2 separate regions of the Homo sapiens genome follow, and region 1 is linked to region 2. The links are contacts of gene promoters, found by promoter capture Hi-C in human tissues and cell types (Jung and others, 2019). All regions are on one chromosome and are shown on one strand. The core of a region is centred on a gene start or on the middle of the fragment in contact, and the rest is flanking DNA. Distances in the headings are between cores, read along the strand shown. Region 1 has its middle 9.4 kb from the start of GABRB3. Region 2 holds the start of GABRA5 (gamma-aminobutyric acid type A receptor subunit alpha5).

Region 1 (4,094 bases), core at 475-2,974, 85 kb before region 2:
TTTATACTGCCTAATTCTGGGATGATTTGAGTAAAAATTTAAAAAAAATGAATTACAACCCTAAAATAATGAATTACAACCCAAAGGAAAAAATTGGAAAATTAGAGTTCATACACATTGTGTTTGATCATGAATGATATATTTTGATCATTAACGGTAATATATTACATAGCATTTAAGTATGTGTTTCACAAAATTATAAAATTAACTATAAAATTAATTATAATTTAAAAATAGTATATTTATAATTCAGCTGGGCCAATACTACCTTAATCAACAGATCTATATGAACAAATTTAAAAAATGAGGTATCTCAAAATTATGCATCTCATGATATAATGCAGTGAGAAGATTATATCAGTTTGTCATTTTCACAAAAATATACAAGCTAAATCCAATCACAAGAAAACATCAGACAAACCCAAATTAAGAGAGTTCCTACAACATAATAACCCTATAATAATCCAAAAGTGCAAATTCCATTGTGTCCAGAATTGGTGGGTTTTTGGTCTCACTAACTTCAAGAATGAAGCCACAGACCCTCGTGGTGAGTGTTACAGTTCTTAACGGCAACGTGTCCAGAGTTTGTTCCTTCTGATGATGAGATGTATTCAGAGTTTCTTCCTTCTCGTGGGTTCGTGGTCTCACTGGCTTCAGGAGTGAAGCTGCAGACCTTCACACTGAGTGTTACAGCTCATAAAGCCAGGATGAACCCAAAGAGTGAGGAGCAGCAAGATTTATTGCAAACAGCAAAAGAACAAAACCTCCACACTACAGAAAAGGATGCAAGCGGGTTGCTACTGCCAGCTAGGGCAGCCTGCTTTTATTCTCTTACCTGGCCCCACCCACGTCCTGCTGATTGGTCCACTTTACAGAGAGCCAATTGGTCTGTTTTACAGAGAGCTGATTGGTCCATTTTGACAGGGTGCTGATTGGTGCATTTACAATCCCTGAGCTAGACACAAAAGTTCTCCACCTCCCCACTACATTAGCTAGATACAGTGTCCACACAAAGCTTCTCCAAGTCCCCACCAGAGTAGCTAGATACAGAGTGTCAATTGGTGCATTCACAAACCCTGAGCTAGACACAGGGTGCTGACTGGTGTGTTTACAAACCTTGAGCTAGATACAGAGTGCCAATTGGTGTATTTACAATTCCTTAGCCAGACATAAAGGTTCTCCAAGTCCCCACCAGACTCAGAAGCCCAGCTGGCTTCACCCAGTGGATCCCGCACGGGGGTGCAGGTGGAGCTGCCTGCCAGTCCCATGCAATGCACCCGCACTCCTCAGCCCCTGGGTGCTGAATGGGACTGGACACCATGGAGCAGCGGGCAGCGCTCATCTGCTAGGCTCCGGCTGTGCAGGAGCCCAAGGCAAAGGTGGGGAGGCTCAGGCATGGCAGGCTGCAGGTCCTGAGCCCTGCCCCACGGGGAAGCAGCTAAGGCCCGGCGAGAAGTCGAGCACAGCATCTGCTGGCCCAGGTGCTAAACCCCTCACTGCCTGGAGCCCGCGGGGCCGGTTGGCCACTCCGAGTGTGGGGCTCGCTGAGCCCACGCCCACCCAGGACTCACGCTGGCCAGCAAGCCTCGCAGGCAGCCCCGGTTCCGCCCGCGCCTCTCCCTCCACACCTCCCGACAAGCTCAGGGAGCCAGCTCCAGCCTTGGCCAGCCCAGAAAGGGGCTCCCACAGTGCAGCTGCGGGCTGAAGGGCTCCTCAAGCGTGGCCAGAGTGGGCGCCAAGGCCAAAGAGGTCCCGAGAGCGAGCGAGGGCTGTGAGTGCTGCCAGCACGCTGTCACCTCTCACCAGAAAAGACTGATAAACTACTCCAAACGAAAGTAAACCAGAGACAGGAATTCTTAATGCATGCATAGTTCTGGACTCCATCATTTTGCTGTAAAATATTTTAATGAGGCAATTGATTGATCTTAAATGGGGTGTAAAGATTGAATGGCAATAATTTAACAGTATCTATTTCCTGATATTTTGATGGTTGGATTGTAATAACACTGAAAGGCTCTTTGTATGTATGAAACCACACTAAGATATGTGAGAAAAGTTTTCTGCAATGTTATGACTTCAAACTAAAAAAAAAAAAGTGTAAGGAAGTTCTGCAGATCCTCTTTATCAGATTAAGGAAATTGCCTACTATTCCTAGTTTAATGGAGAGTCTTTATCAAGAAAGGTATGCAATTTCATCAGATGCTTTTTTTTGTATCTATGAGATAATCATTAATTTTCTCCTTTACTCTTTTAACATGATAAATGACATTGATTTTTCAAATGTTAAGCAATATTTGTATTCCTAGGATAAACACTGCTTGGTCATTTTGCTTATACTTTTTACCTGTTACTGCATTTGATTGCCCAATATTATTATTAAAAATGTGTGTGCCTAAGGTCATGAGTGTTTTGGTGTATGTTTGCCTTTTCTCGCCTAGTTTTTGTATTAGTGCGATGCTGACCTCAGAAAGCAAGGTTCCATGTGTGTTCCTTTCTCCTGTAATTTTTGAAAGATTTTTCTGTAGGATTGTCATTACATCTTTCTTAAATATTTCCTAGAATTTGCCAATGAAGCCAATGAAGTTTGAACATTTTAATTTCTAAATAATAAATACATTATCTTCAGCAGACATAGGCTATTTAGATTTCTAACTTATTTCTGAACTTATTAATAAAAAATATTTATAACATTCCCTTATAATTTTTAAAGTTTGTAGTGCATGTAGTTATGCTCCCACTTTCTTTTCTGATATTAGTAGGTTGTGTCCTCTTTTTTATATTGATAAGTCTAGCTAAAAGTTGCTTACTTTCATTCATCTTTTCAAATGATCTGTTTTTGGTTGCACCACTTTGCTCTATTGTCTGTTTTGTATCATTGATTTCTGCTTTTGTTTTTACTATTTCCTTTCTTCTACTTTCTTTGGGCTTACTTTGCTTTTTCCTTTTCTAGTTTCTTAGGATTGAAGCTTAATGATTTTTAGGACTTTTCTAATACGGGCATTTAAAGCTATGTATTTCTAAGCTGCAGTAGTATTCCAAAACATTTAGTATGCTATATTTTAATTTTAATTTACTTCACTATTTTCTCATTTATTTTGATTTTTATTAGCCATAGGTATTTAGAAGTATGTTCTCTAATTTCAAACCATTAAAAGATGCTAGATTCTATTGTTATGTTTAATTTTGTTATAATCAGAGAACATATTTCCTATAGATTCAGCTCTTCTAAATTTGCTGTGATAAAATTTCTGACCTGTGCATGGTTTAGGTTGGTGATTATACCATGCACACTTGAGCAGATAGTGCATTCTGTTCTTTGGAGTATTGTATAAATGTCAATTAGGTTAAGTTGGCTGACAGTGATGTTTGGGTTTTATATATCCTTACTGATTTTCTGTGTACTTGTTTAGTCAATTACTGAGAGGGGAATGTTGATGTCTTTAAATATTATTATTATTTGTCTATTACTTCTTTCAATTCTTTGAGTTTCTGCTACTTGCCTACTTGTCTTTTCAAACTGTTATTTGGTGCATAGGCATGCAGGAGTTGTACGATTTTTTTTTTTTTTTAAGATGGATTCTTGCTCTGTTGCCCAGGCCAAGTGCAGTGGCATGATCTTGGCTCACTGCAACCTCTGCGTCCAGGGTTCAAGCGATTCTCCTGCCTCAGACTCCTGAGTAGCTGGGACTACAGGTGCGCACTACCACACACCTGGCTAGTTTTTTGTATTTTTAGTAGAGATGGGGTTTCACCATCTTGGCCAGGCTGGTCTCGAACTCCTGAGCTTGTGATCCACCCAATGAATTGTCTCTTTTATTATCTGAAATGTTCCTCTTTGTTGCTGGTAGTATTCTTTGCCTGGAGCCAGCTTTGTCTTATCTTAGTAAGTACTCCAACTCTTTTACAATTTTTCCTTTTATTTCAACCTATTTGCTTAGAGTTAAAATCTTTTTTGCGGGCTTCATTTAGTCAGGCCAAGCTTCTTTAATCATGTCTGATAATTCCTTCCTTTTAGCTGGACTGTCCAGTTCAGATCTATTTAATAGAAATGTAATGTAAGCCACACACTGAAATTTTCAAAAACATTCTGTAGC
Region 2 (4,181 bases), core at 793-3,292:
TCAGCACAAATACAGAATTCTATAGTAAAACAAAAATCATTGAAATGGTAGTAAGCACTCTTCTAGCAATGTGAGTTTCTGTAAGGTTCTGATGGGCCTTACGATTTCACTGTCCCCTCAGGGCAGTCCATCTAAAGTGAGGCTATGTTATGTTACATAAACACTAGGAGGAGAGAGAGTGGCATACCGTTTCATTACAGGGAAGAGAAAAGAATTTAAGCAACATGCTGAAATACAATGTTAAAGAATGACTCTAACTTAAAATGATTTTTATATATTCAATAATATGTGTTGTGTGGACATAAAGCTGATAGAAAGTGTACCAAAAAAAGTGGAAGTTTTAAACATAATCCATCAAAAGAACATATTTCCTTACAGCTGACATTTCTTTTATTATTAAGAATTAATGTCTATAACCCTCGCTAATACAAAAATCATCCCTTGTTTATATACATTTATTTTTGCAAACTCACACCGAATGACTTTGTGTGACAAGCTGTGAAGTTTAAAATTTACCAATTCTTCCAACTCTTTGATTTGCATTATGCTGTTTAATCCTGAGAGAAGAGCAGCTGTCGCTGGTATTAGGTGTTAGAATTCCAACACCTAATAGGTGAAAATTATATTAGGCTGATCATAAAACCATGTTGTTAACTTTTTAAAATTTAATGTCTCCCAAGGAATTTCACCCTAGTGGTACATCTTTTGGGAAATTAGAAAATGAAGAAATGCATACGTTCAGTGATCCATTTTAGAATTAGAAAATTCAAATTAGCATCTTATTTCATTCATATTTCCTGAAGAACCACTGGAAACAGTTATTTAATAGTGTGGCTAAATGTATATTCAGAGAAACACTTCCTGTATATTTGCACATTTATGTATATTTATGTCCTATTCCTGGAATAGATTTACAAGTTTTGTTTTTCAGAAAATTTCAGAATTTCTGGAATGTGCAGAAGTATTAACAGGTAACTTAGATTTGGAATACACTGTATTAGAGATAACTGGAAAAATGAGAGGCTTCCTACACTGGAAGGTCAAAGATCTTTCCTGGAGGGGAGTTAGGAATTTGCCTTTACTTACCATTATTCTGTTAAAAGAGATTATGAATAATGCAGTTTCACAAAAGGAATGGGACAATGGTGTAAGTAAACCTCCCCATCACGTTTTCAGTGGCTTTCCTTTGAGTCTTGAACGTTTTCCACTGGGTGTTATAGTCGAGAGTCCCCCACCTCCTGAGGAAGCAAGACCTGGCAAACCCAAGACGATGCGCTCTTACTTGTGTTGTTTGAAGGGGCCCTGCTGCCGCGCAGTTGTCATTAATGCCACCCTCACCTCCCAGGAACTGCACCACTAGGACGGACGACACACCGACGTAATGACCATAGTAAGACCCCATGTACGTGGCTAATGAGGCAGTGACCCGACGTGGCTCGGAAGCCCTGCTGGGGAGATCCCGCCCCGTCACCCCAGAGGCGCTCTCCGACCTGCAGCCCCCAGGGCTCCTGGCCCTTTCCCGTTTGCCACTGCGGCTTGTTGTCAAGAAATGGAACTTCAGAAAACCCCCAGATATACACTGCGTTAGGTAAGGATTTCATTCTAATCGAGTCCAATGTGACCCTGGCTTTCCCTCCCGTAGTTATGCATTCCTGTCTATGAGTGAGATGAAAAGAATGTCCACAGGCCAGCTTCTTTCAGAAGCGCCTAAGAGATGCGCATGTAAGGGGTGCCATGGAGCACCCGGGAAGGACCCAGGCCTGGGCAGGGAGGCGTTGGGGCCGGCTCTAGGGAGCAAAGCTGTCGGAGTCCAGGCCTCTATCACCCGACTGCTGACACTGCCCTCCCATCCCTGCTCTACAAGCGGGCGGTGGTGACTACACGAGGCGCCGAAGATGCTGTTGAGGGCCCTGGAGAAACTTCAGCAGAACAGGGCCTCTCCCCTTGCAGGCCGAGCCGGGGGCCCTGCGCCCTCCCCCTCCGCCCAGCTCGGCCAAGGGCGCATTTGCTGAGCGTCTGGCGGCCTCTACCGGAGCACCTCTGCAGAGGGCCGATCCTCCAGCCCAGAGACGACATGTGGCGCTCGGGCGAGGTGAGAGCGGGCGCGAGTGCGCCGGGGGCGCTGGGGGGCTCTGCGGCGGGCGGCGCGCGGCCCGGGGCGCGGCGCGGAGCGGAGCTGCAGGGCGGCGGCGGGAGCGCGGGGCGCAAGAGCCGCTCCGCCGGGAGTGCCGGGGAAGTTCGCGCTGGCAGCATGGGGCGGTGACGCCGCACCGGCCTTCCGCGCCTGCCAGCCGGGCGAGAGCAGGCGGAGGAGAAGGAGGATGCATCCTCACCGACGGCTCGCCTCCCGGGGCCGGCGCGCAGGGTGAGCCCTGGGCGCGCTGGGCCGGGGCAGTGGGGTAAGAGGACGCGAGCGGGGAAGAGGACCGGCCGCCCCGGCTCGGTCCGCACCCTTCTCCTCGGGGCGCCTGAGCGGCAGGCTGCGTGGCCGGGGAGGAGAGGTGCAGAGCAGGCGGGGCGCGCAGCCAGGCCAGAGCGCAAACTTTACCCTGGCGACTGCGGGGCTGAAGCCGGGCGCGGGAGAGAGCGGGGTCCGGGCGGCTCATCCCTGCCGGACGGGGCACCAGGGCGCGGTGACCGGTTGGGGGTGGGGGACACCCGTTGCCACCATCACGGGAGCCGGAGGGGTGAGATCGCCCACCTGGAAAGCCAGCGTCAGCCCCGGGGCTCTGAGGCGCGCGGCGTCCCGGCGCTGCTCGCGGGGTGGACTCGGACCCCGCGGGGGTGTCGCGCGCGTGTCGCGCGGGCTGCTCGAGGCCAGGGGACTTGGAGTCGCTGCTGCACCGCGCGCTCCCAGCCCAGGAGGAAGGCGCTGCCTGGCGGAGCGCTTGGCTCGTACCCGGGGCAGGAGCAGGGGAAGTCTGCGAAAGCCGGGAGCGAGCCGGGGAGGGCCGGGGAGCTGGAGACCCTCGGCGTGCCGCTGCGGACCGCGCGGGTGGCGACCGCGGGTGCCAGGGCGACCCAGGCTGCGGCTCCGCAGTGCAGCCCCCGCGCCCACCTGCCCTGGCGCGCCGGCCCTGGTGAGCCTCTGTGGGGGTCCGGAGGGTCGTGGGAGCGCAGCCTCTCCTGGGGGTCCCTGGCTCGGGGCTGAGGGGCGGCGGGAGGCGCCGCCCGGGTTTCCCGCATGCAGCGCCGCGTGCTCGCCGCCTGGCTCTGGCCCGGGCCCCGCGACGAGCCCCCCGGACGCGCCCAGGCGACCACCGCATGGCACCCTGCCCTTCTTGGCAGGAGTCGCAGAAGGCCTTCGCTTCCGAGGTGGAAGTACCTGTTGTGTCTCCCAATTCCGGAGTTTGCGGGGGATGGGGGTTGGGGGGGCTTCTTGGGAAAATGCTTCTTTTCGAAGCATACTGTTCGGATGCCTGTGAGCACCTATTTGCGTTATGCGCATACTGAGAAATGCGTGTTTTCAGGAAGGTTAGTCGTTGAGCCCAGGGACAATGTCTGCCTGGATCTCAAATACATTAATTAGGGTCCAGCATTGAGTGGAGAGACTTCCACAGATGCAGTGCTTAAGTTATGTAGTCACGGGGACCGAATGCCGGGAAAGTAGCCACACTCTTTTATAGGCAGTTGTCACAGTATTGTGATCCTGCAGAAAACCTGTTTCTTAAATGTGCTTTTCCCCACTTCTTTCCACGTACTTTCTCAGTGCCTTGCAGAGAGAGGAGTAGCTTGCTGGCTTTGAACGCGTGGCGTGGCAGATATTTCAGAAAGGTAAAATTACTACACTTGTGGATTTGACGGATACAAAATACAGTCGCTCAGATAACTACAGCGTTTATTTTAATAATTGGACTAATGGTTTATTTGATAACATGCTAAAAAACAAAACAGAGTATTTGAGTGGAAAACAACGAATTAGGGTGATTCTGCACCCTGAGTAGAAGTAAAAATAAGCCTCTTGTTACTTATTTTTATGCTCCAACTTACTGCCCAGTGAGGGTGATGGAAAATACCTGGTGTGCAGCTGTCCTGGGGAAGGACAGCGGGCTCCTTTCTTTGCAAATTGTTGTGATAGCAGTGTGATTTGATTCCAGGAACTGTGACACAACAGCATTGATGTTCACGTGCTTCCCCGCTTTGTGTGCTTTTCAGCTTCAAGAACAAGCTGGAGAAGGGAA

Evidence for each region. Contacts are between HindIII fragments. The study calls those that stand out against the background at their distance.
Region 1: a contact is called between a fragment that was not itself captured here and the fragment with the promoter of GABRA5 in region 2, in 3 of the 25 tissues and cell types used here (aorta, heart right ventricle and stomach).

What each region holds. Positions count from the first base shown.
Region 1 is chr15:26,780,389-26,784,482 of GRCh38, forward strand. No RefSeq gene overlaps it. Among named protein-coding and RNA genes, the nearest start is that of GABRB3, 9.4 kb to the left of the region's middle. The HindIII fragment of the contact is 3,496 bases long and covers 1-3,472 here.
Region 2 is chr15:26,865,020-26,869,200 of GRCh38, forward strand. GABRA5 (gamma-aminobutyric acid type A receptor subunit alpha5) reads left to right here and starts at 2,043. Exons shown (of 11, transcript NM_000810.4): 1 at 2,043-2,092; 2 at 3,710-3,774; 3 at 4,156-4,181. The HindIII fragment of the contact is 20,920 bases long and covers 1-4,181 here.